Regions from separate parts of the Homo sapiens genome. Here region 2 is linked to region 1. The links are contacts of gene promoters, found by promoter capture Hi-C in blood cells and fetal thymus (Javierre and others, 2016). All regions are on one chromosome and are shown on one strand. The core of a region is centred on a gene start or on the middle of the fragment in contact, and the rest is flanking DNA. Distances in the headings are between cores, read along the strand shown.

Region 1 (4,662 bases), core at 1,262-3,761:
GTAAAGGCTACAAGAGCTATACTGATACCCAGTGCTATTGGGGGTATAGAAATGGAGAGATCCAGACCAGCTATGTAGTTCTGGGGCATGCTGTGGTTTTAAATGTTGAAATTTCACCTTGGCCTGGACATATGGCAAGGATGGTGATAGGAACCTAAAGATGTATATATTTTGGGAAGAGGAAAAGAGGCTAAAATAGTTATAGGATCACACACATGATATAGACTCAATATACATTTCAAAGAAACATCTGTTGGTCATGGGAGAAAAGTCTCAATCCATAAAGGAGGCCAAGTACATTGAGAATATGTAGCAGAGAGATAAAGTCTGTCCTGTTTCTCCCCAAATGATGTTGAAATCCTAATGTGTGAATGTGCTCTTATTTGAAACTAGTATATTTAAATACTATTTAGTTACCATGTGCTCATTAGGGTAGACCCTTATCCAACATGACTGTGTCCTTATCAAAAAGGGACATTTATACACAAGGAATATGCCAGGGTGAAGAAGAAAGCAGAGATCAGGGTGATGCACCTATAAGCCAAGGAATGCTAAAGGTTTCCAGGAAACTATTAGAAGCTAGAAGAGAGGCATGGACCAGAGGCCTCCTTCATAGCCTTCAGAAGGAACCAGCCCTGTCAACACATTTTATCTTGGATAACTAGCCTCCAGAATTGTAAGGCAATATATTTCTGCTATTTAAGCCAACCACTTTTGGTACTTTTTCTATGACAGCTCTAGAAAACTAATACAAGTGCTTATTTTTCTTGATTTATTCATTCTTTTTTTTTTTTTTTTTTTTTTGAGACGGAGTCTCACTCTGTCACCCAGGCTGGAGTGCAGTGGTGCGATCTCGGCTCCTTGCCAGCTCCGCCTCTCGGGTTCACGCCATTCTCCTGCCTCAGCCTCCAAGTAGCTGGGACTACAGGCGCCCGCCACCACACCCGGGTGATTTTTTGGTGTCTTTTTAGTAGAGACGGGGTTTCACTGTGTTAGCCAGGATGGTCTCGATCTCCGGACCTCATGATCTGCCCGCCTCGGCCTCCCAAAGTGCTGGGATTACTGGCGTGAGCCACCGCGCCCGGCCTATTCATTCTTTATTCTAACATTGAAGAAATGTAGCCCCATTGAAACCCTTCCGACCTAAGACAGGTAGACAGACAGACACATAAACAAAATGCATGCTCCCCTTTGAAGGTGGTGCGAATGTAGAAGTTTCTATGACACGGTGAAGGCTAACTAGGTCCGTAGCTTCCTTGTTTCAGAATACTCTGATTACCTGCACAGAAGCTTTCTTTATCTGTGCAATTTAAATCAAAAAAAAAAAAAAAAAAAAGATGGCCAGGCGCTGTGGCTCAAGCCTGTAATCCCAGCAGTTTGGGGGGCCGAGGCGGGCAGATTACCTGAGGTCAGGAGTTTGAGGCCAGCCTGGCCACTATGGTGAGACCCCGTATCTACTAAAAAATATATATATATACAAACATTAGCCAGGTGTGACAGCAGTTGCTTGTAGTCCCCGCTACTCTGGAGGCTGAGGCAGGAGAATCACTTGAACCCAGGAGGCGGAGGTTGCAGTGAGCTGAGATCACACCACTGCACTCCAGCCTGGCAACAGAGCAAGACTCCGTCAAAAGAAAAAAAAAAAAAAAGATTAAATTAAATTAGTGTGGCTACACAATAAGGAGAAAAATTATAAGGGGTTTAGCCATCAATATCTTTTTTTTTTTTTTTTGAGACAAGGTCTCACTGCGTTGCCCAGGCTGGTCTCAAACTCCTCAACTCAAGCAGTCCTCCAGTCTTGGCTTCCCAAAGTGCTGGGATTTTTGGCTAGGCTTTGGCACAAGCCACCAGGTGCCTGGCCTAGCCAACATCTTTTAAATTTCCCCTGTTCCTTGGGTCAGGAACTACCAATGGAGAAAATAGGTCCTGTTCTTGGCATGCAGAAACCTGGAGAACTCAGAAACACCGTTACCACTTCTTATTTGTCTAAACTCAGAGTTCCTTTTTCAATGACCCACTAAAATGTCCAGGGTTTAGTTTTCCCCAAGTAATGACCCTTTTTCCAAGAGTTCTAACTCTCTGGTCAATATGTTTCAGATAAGTCATTTTGTAACAGAGGACAGATTTCATAAAGCTACCCCAGTGTCATCTCTTTCTCTCACAGTTAGTTCATCAGTTCTTAAATCCATCATTTTATTGAAGACTGCTCAAAATCATTGTCTCACAGTGAGACCTAATGTGAAATCTATTTAAAGTTGCAAAGCCCTTGACAAGAGCACTACAGATACCACATCCTATTGCAGCCCTTTTAGTTTGTTGCTTTTGTTTTATTGGTTTTACATTTATCCTCTAGTAACTGCTACCTTTTTGCTACATTAAAACTGCTGGTTTACTTCCTTTTTTTGACTGCGTGTTTACTTCCTTTTCCCTAGTCCAGAGCATAATCTCTTACCGGTATTTAATGTTGATTATATATCGAATAGATAGTTTTTTTGTTTTTGTTTTTGTTTTTTTACTATACCTGTATGCTTTTGTTTTGTGAATTTAGTCAAAAATATTTTTCAAAAATTAAAAGTACAGTTTTATTTATTGGGTCCTGTACTAGACTTGACAATGAATAAATACTAGATATGGACCTTGACAAGATGTGCGGTACAGACACATAAGGAGACAGTTACCTGGACCTCTGAAAAGTGAAACAAAGAAAAGGACACATCAGAATATGGGTGACATAGGCATCAAGGTACAAAATGCTCAGCGATAAGATCGAGATAAGACTCAGGAGAAATTACCAACTCCTTGCCTTAGCTCTGTGCAAGGGAAAATTGAGTAGGGAGTTGAGGTAACTCATGATGAAAAGGTGTACCTAGAATAATAGCAACTTCTAAAACAGGAGTGGATACCAGAGGTTCATTGGGTGCTACAGAAGTTGAGGGAGGAGACCACCTCTCATATTGTCTTATGCCCAATTTCTGCCTCCAAAGAAAGAAAAAGTAAAAACTAAAAGGCAGAAATGAAATCCACAAGCAGACAGCCCGGGGCCACACCCTGGACCTGGTAGTTAAAGATGGACCCCTGACCTAATTGGTTTGTTATCTATAGATTCCAGACATTGTATAGAAAAGCACTGTGAAAATCCCTACTCTGTTTTGTTCCGATCTAATTACCGGTGTATGCAGCCCCCAGTCACGTACCCCCTGCTTGCTCAATCGATCACGACCCTCTCACGCGGACCCCCTTAGAGTTGTGAGCCCTTAAAAGGGACAGGAATTGCTCACTCGAGGAGCTCGGCTCTTGAGACAGGAGTCTTGCCTATGCCCCTGGCCGAATAAACCCCTTCCTTCTTTACCTCGGTGTCTGAGGAGTTTTTTCTGTGGCTGGTCCTGCTACAAAGGAAGAGTAAGCTGTGGGTACTCAGAAGAACAAGTTCCCTGTGACTGGACCTTCAGAGACAAGAGACCAAAGTGGAGCTGCAGAGATGAGCAGCAGTCTGCCCGTCCTGCGGCCTCTCTCCTCGGACTAACCAGAGGGCTGCTAATTTATCAGGAAAGCTATGGACAGCATCCAAAAAGTTACCAGAAGGCAAGTAAAAGGATAACCTTCAAAAGGGCCTTACTTCTGAAGACTGAGTACCTAAGACTCCTTCGCCTCATACCCAGATCCAGATAAGGGCTCTCATCCCTGCTGAACCTCATCATGAGGTTGCTTTATGAAAAGTGAAAACAAAGCTTCATTGCACAGGCTTCTTCGGGAGAAAGGAGGAAGGAATTTGCTGCCTCTGAATAAAAGAAAATTCTGATCCACGTTGGCAAAATGGAAAAATCAAAATGACAGAATAGGAATGTGGGGTATGATAAGGTTTCTCTTCAAATAGCCTGATCAATCCTTTATTCTTTAATTCACAGTGCCCCTCCCCACTTCACTTTTCTTCTCTTCTCTTTCCTTTCTGCTTTTGCTACATGCCTAGACATGTCACAGTACCAGGCGTTATCAGTACCAACTCACATTCCTTTCCTTATTTTGGAAGAAGATTAGTTATCTAGCTCATCACACACACCCCTTCCCCATCTCCCCTCTCTCCCTCACGTGCCCACCTTATCTAAAGAAAGTTAAAATGTTTAGCCAACTGAGTCTAGTTTAGATTGTGTGGCCGACTCCAGCCAATGGGGAAAGGGCAAAGGGGTAGGATTTGCGTCAGGAATAAAAACTTTCTTCCTCCTTTGTTCTAGTGTGCTCTCATGGCGACTGGCAAAGAAGAAGCACCCCTCTGCACAGAAATAAAATTGCTTTGCTGAGAAATCCTTTGTTTGAGTGCTCGTCTCCCTTAAGATTCTGAGCTTTATTTCCAACAAGGAAGGTGATGGAGGTACCTAGATTGAAGAAATGAATGGTCCCTCTAGGAAACAAGCAAGGCTTTTTGCTTTTGCAAACCTCTCTTCTTTAAAGGTTACCCCTCTCCCAGACTCAGTGCTTTCTTCCTCTGCCATCTCAGCAGACAGTTCACAAGCTGCCTCTTTTTGTTTATGCAGAGCAGCTTCAGAACTACAAATTAAACTCACCCAGACACAATCAATCTATTCTTCTCAAAGCCTCCCATTCTATGCTCCCACAGATTGCTCCACTCACCTTCAGTCCAAAGCAGAGGAGTCTTGAATCAGGGGA
Region 2 (4,662 bases), core at 332-2,831, 960 kb before region 1:
AGACCTTGTAAGGACTCAAATATAAGGTTACTCCCTCTTTCCTGAGGGATGATTTTGGAAAAACAAAAAAGCAAAAACTTCACCCTATATTCAAGCTTATACGGCATTTGCAGATGACTCCCAAATATTTATGTCCATCCCAGACCGCTCCTCTAAGTTGCAGACCTACCTACCCAACCAGCACTTCAAAGTCAGCAGCCCCAAGTCACAGTCATCATCTCCTCATACGAACCCCCTGCAGCCTCCTGCTGCTCCTTTTGTGGAGCACAGCCAGCCTCACCACCATCCATCCACCCAGCTGCCCAAGCGCCGTGGATATGATCAAGGACCCCAGTCTCTCCCTCACTCCTCTTCCAAAATCACACTCCCTTCTTCTTCAGCTGAAACTGTGTTCCTTCTCCACAGAAGTTCCTGATTTCTTTGTGCCATTTGTACACATCTCAAGTCCAGAAAACCTGTTTTTCTCACAGTCTACTCGCAGTCCTAAGGAAGAAGGACAGGAGTCAGAACTCTTCCCAGTTCCTTTAAGATTGCTTGCTCTTTGTCTCTGTCTGATTTCCCCTCTCCCCATATTCTCTCCCAAGTTGGTTTTTTGAGCCCCTTCCCACTTCCCTGCCCGGTTTCCTCCTCACTTAATTTTTCTAGGGAGTATATCGTGAGTGGGACCACCATCCCCAAAGCTCTTCTTTCCAATATCTCCCGATCTCTACCCTCAAATTTGGGATAAAGAGAAAGTGGGGGAAAGGGAGCCTGGGGGTGAAGGAGAGAAAAGAGACAGAAATCATGGGATAATGAAAAGTGACTAACAGGGGAGAAGGCCGAGGTTACGATGGAAGAAGGGGAAGAGACAGCGGGTAGTGAAAAGGGCAGGGGTGAGAAAAGGGAATGAGGAGAAGGCGTGAGGAAAAGGGGATGATGAGGTGAGGCGAAAGACACAGGGAGAAGGGGATGGGGAGAAAGGTGGGGAGAAGAGACGGGGAGAAAGGGATAGGAAGAAAAGGATAAAAGGAGAGGTGGGGAAGGAGAATCTGATGTAAAGAGGCTGGAGAGAGATCAAGCAGAAGGGGTAAGGAGAAGAGAAAGGGGAGAAGAGCTGGGGAGAAAATGATGGAGATGGGGCGAGAAGAAGAGGATGGGAGAAAGGCAGAGGGGAATGGAGATGACGGTTGGGAAAAAGAAGGGGCGAGAGGGAGACCAGGGCACTGAGGGAGAAGAGGGGAATAGGGGATGGAAAGAAGATGGAAGAGGAGGAGGTGAGCAGCAGGGAGCGGCGAGAAGGGGAAGAGACGAGAGGGCGTAGAGAACCGAATGGGAGGAGAGGACGGGAGAAGTGACGGGGAGAAGGGAAGGGAACCGGGACGGGGGCGCGGCGCGGCGCTGGGGCCGGATCCGGAGCCGGGGCCTGGGGCCGGGAAGTGGAGGGGCGGAGGGAGGCCGGGCGGGCGCCGGGGGGAAGGGGGGGCGGCGGCGCGGAGCGCGGGTGGGGGCGGGGGCGGGGGCTCCGCGGGCGGAGGGGCGGGGGCTCGGGTTACCGCGCGGAGGGCGGGGGGAGGGGAGGGGAGGGGGCGCGGGGCCGCGGCAGCGGAGCTCGCATCCTCGGCGGGGCGGCTGTGCAGGAGGCGGCGCCCGGGCGTCAGCGGACGGACCGATCGACGGCCAAGGGCGCGCGGACCGACGGCGGCTGCCCGGAGGGGATCGCGGGCCTCGGAGACAGCGACTGCGGACGATGCGCGGCCTCAGGCCCCGCGCGAGCGGGCGCTGCCCGGGGGGCTGACCGCGGCCGGACGGCGCCCCAGCACCGGGCGAGGGAGCCCGCGTCGCGCGGAGGTCAGTGCCCGCGCCCGCCCGGCCCGTCTGGCCGCGCCCGCCCTGCCCGCCGGCCTCCCCTGGGCTGCGGCAGCGGCGGCGGAGCCGGGGGCTTTGTTCTGAGCCGGAGACAATGGGGGAGGGGGGGCCTGGGCCTGCGGGACCCGGGCGGGCGTGAACGTGAGCGTGGGGGCAGGGCCTGGGGGTCTTTGTGTGCGTGTGTCATCGAGTCGGGGAGGGTGGCGGCGGGAGCGTGCGCCGGGGGTGTGGGGTGCGACAGCGTTGTGTTCCAGTGCATCGTCGGAGTGTGTCAGTGCGTGTCACTGGGAGGTTGTGTGTCCCTGGGCGTCTCTCTGGCTGTGTGTGCATGTGCGTGTCACTCTGAGGGTGTGAGGGTCAGAATGACCGTGTGTCATGGTGAGCGAGTCCCTGTGAGGGTGTGTTGCCCGCTCTGTGGGAGCCCATGTGTCAGAATGTGGAGGATGGGTGTGTGACAGAGACCAACTGAGACAGAGACAAAGAAACTGAGTGGGGAGAAGTACAGAGAAGCAGAGGAGAGGCAGGCACAGCCTGAAGTGGATGGAGGGGGGGGTCACCCAGACGTGTTCTGAGTGGGAGATTGGAGCAACTGGGAGTTTGTGTCTGGGATACCCAGCTCAGAATCCCGTGCAGGGGACAGAGCAAGGTCACCGCAGGCGTGGGTCCCACGTGGAGGGGGTGGGGAGAGGGAGGTCTAGAAGCACAATGAACTCAGTGTGGCGGGCTGGGCCCACAGCCACAAGGTCATAGGCCAGAAAAATATTGTCGCTTATGTCAACTTCTCAAATACCCATAGGGACACAGTCATAGCCCTACTCAACCCACAAGAGGACACAGTCCCAGGGAACACACATCCTCAAGAGATACCCTCACAGCCATCATACACTTCCAGGAAGCCCACCCCCAGGAAGCACCCCCAGTCAGAACCAACACACACCTACAGCAGACTCTATCAAGCCAACACACACCTACGGAAAATGCTCTCATGACAACACACACCCACAGGAGAAATGCTGCAACCAACATACTCCCACCGGTTCATTGTCAAGGCCAACACATACCATGGAAGACATTGTTACTGCTAACACTCTCCAGAAACACTGTCACCAGCAACAAACAAGTAGACCAGCACCTCTCAGGAGACATTGTCACTGCAATCCACATCCATCAGAAGCACTGTCACAACTGTCACAGCACATCTTATTAGGTTTACTTCCTTGGAGCTGCCCATACATAGTGGGTGTCCTAGAAGCCTGTCACTAACAGGAGGCTGTGCCACAGTTGCCCTTACCACACAGCCACTTGTACAACCCCCAGGAGACAGTCATGGATGGCATGCACACCACAGGAAGACCTGTCCCAACTTCTGAATAAACTCTGCTTAACTTATCAAGCTCACACCTTCACCCCTTCTCATACGTAGATCTCCCAGGTATACCCTCTTGTTCCCTGAAAACTTCGAGATCTGGATAGTGTATCCTGCCATGGTTTCTCAGTGTCCTTCAACACCACAGCTTCACAGATTCTTGACCTCCTTAGCTCCTGTTACCTTCCTCCCTCCCAGGACCACTCTGTAGAACTATTCCACCTTTAAAATTCTAAACTCTTGCATTCCTCTCTCTACCCACAACCTCCTATATCCTTCCAGCTTTCAGATGTTCTCGCTCCCATTACACTCTTTGACCTCATAATGACCTCTTGCCCTTGACCTCTTTGTTTTCTCCTACTCTGTTCCTTTCTGACTTTGTGCTTTCTTTCCAGCTCATATGCTAAGGATCATCCCTTCAACCACTCCTTGGCCACTGTGTTTCCTTGTCTTCTATACTCATCCCTCAAATTATTGCCCCTAACTAGAATGATTTCTCAACCACACCAGGGGACGCTTCTATAAATTCATACTTCTAAAAAATTCAAACCTCAACTGGGCCCTTCATAAATAAATAGATGATTTTTTTTCTATTTTCTTCACACTCATTACCCCACATCCCTCACACCATTGTTTTCAGTAGATTAATTAATCAAAACGCTAATTCATTCATTTAACAAACACATACTAGGCACCTACTCTGCTAGGCATTGTGATGAGAGTTGGCAGCACAAGTGTGAACAAAATGGACATGGTCCTTATCCTCATGGAGCTTACAGGCTGTGGAGTGAGTGTTGTAACACAGCAGCACACAGCAGAGTAACCTAGGCCAGTGTAGGGAGGTCAGAAGAGTCTTTCTGGAGGAAGTGGCATTTAAACTTAAACTTGATGGAGTGGGTGGAGAATATGCCAAGCCAAGGGAGCAGCATGTAAAAGCCCACATGAAGGAAAATAGTGTGTGTGTGAGGGATAAAGCAGTTCAGTGAGCCTGACACTTACAGCATGAGGTGACGAGAGAGGGAGAGTCTGTGGGAGAGGTAAATGGAGGCTTAGACCATGCAGGGTCTAGGAGGCCACAGAAAGAAATTCATTTAACCCAAGAATAATGGAGAGTCACCAAATCATTGGAAGCTTGGAGCGATATGATCAGATTCATTTTAGAAATACCACTCTGACAGCCATGTGGAGACTGGAGAAAGAGCCTGAGAAGAAGGACAGTTGGCTGTTGCAGAAACTCTGGAGGGTATAACACTGGCCTGAACTGGAGTAGTGGCCGGAGAGAAGGAGAAAGTGGATGGTTTCAAGAGCTCTTTAGGCAGTGGGATCAGCAGGGCTCAGTGACAAAGCAGACATGGTGGGGTGAAGGAAAGGAAGGAATTAAGAGTGGACAACCTGGTCTTCTGGCTCACTGAGGAAATTGAGGCCATCTGTTTTGAATTCCCTCAGATTTC

What was found. Contacts are between HindIII fragments. The CHiCAGO score rates a contact against its expected background, and 5 or more counts as called.
Region 2: a contact is called between the fragment with the promoter of DCHS1 here and a fragment that was not itself captured in region 1, in 1 of 17 cell types (activated CD4 T cells). The highest score is 5.3, in activated CD4 T cells.

What each region holds. Positions count from the first base shown.
Region 1 is chr11:5,689,864-5,694,525 of GRCh38, reverse strand. TRIM22 (tripartite motif containing 22) reads right to left here. Exons shown (of 8, transcript NM_006074.5): 1 at 4,627-4,662. It overlaps LOC124902620 (a long non-coding RNA gene), which reads left to right and starts at 1,772. Exons shown (of 2, transcript XR_007062561.1): 1 at 1,772-3,848; 2 at 4,230-4,299. RefSeq lists enhancers at 3,917-4,016, 3,432-4,631, 4,603-4,662, 4,064-4,662. The HindIII fragment of the contact is 2,438 bases long and covers 1,293-3,730 here.
Region 2 is chr11:6,652,728-6,657,389 of GRCh38, reverse strand. It overlaps DCHS1 (dachsous cadherin-related 1), which reads left to right and starts at 1,581. Exons shown (of 21, transcript NM_003737.4): 1 at 1,581-1,827. The HindIII fragment of the contact is 4,247 bases long and covers 98-4,344 here.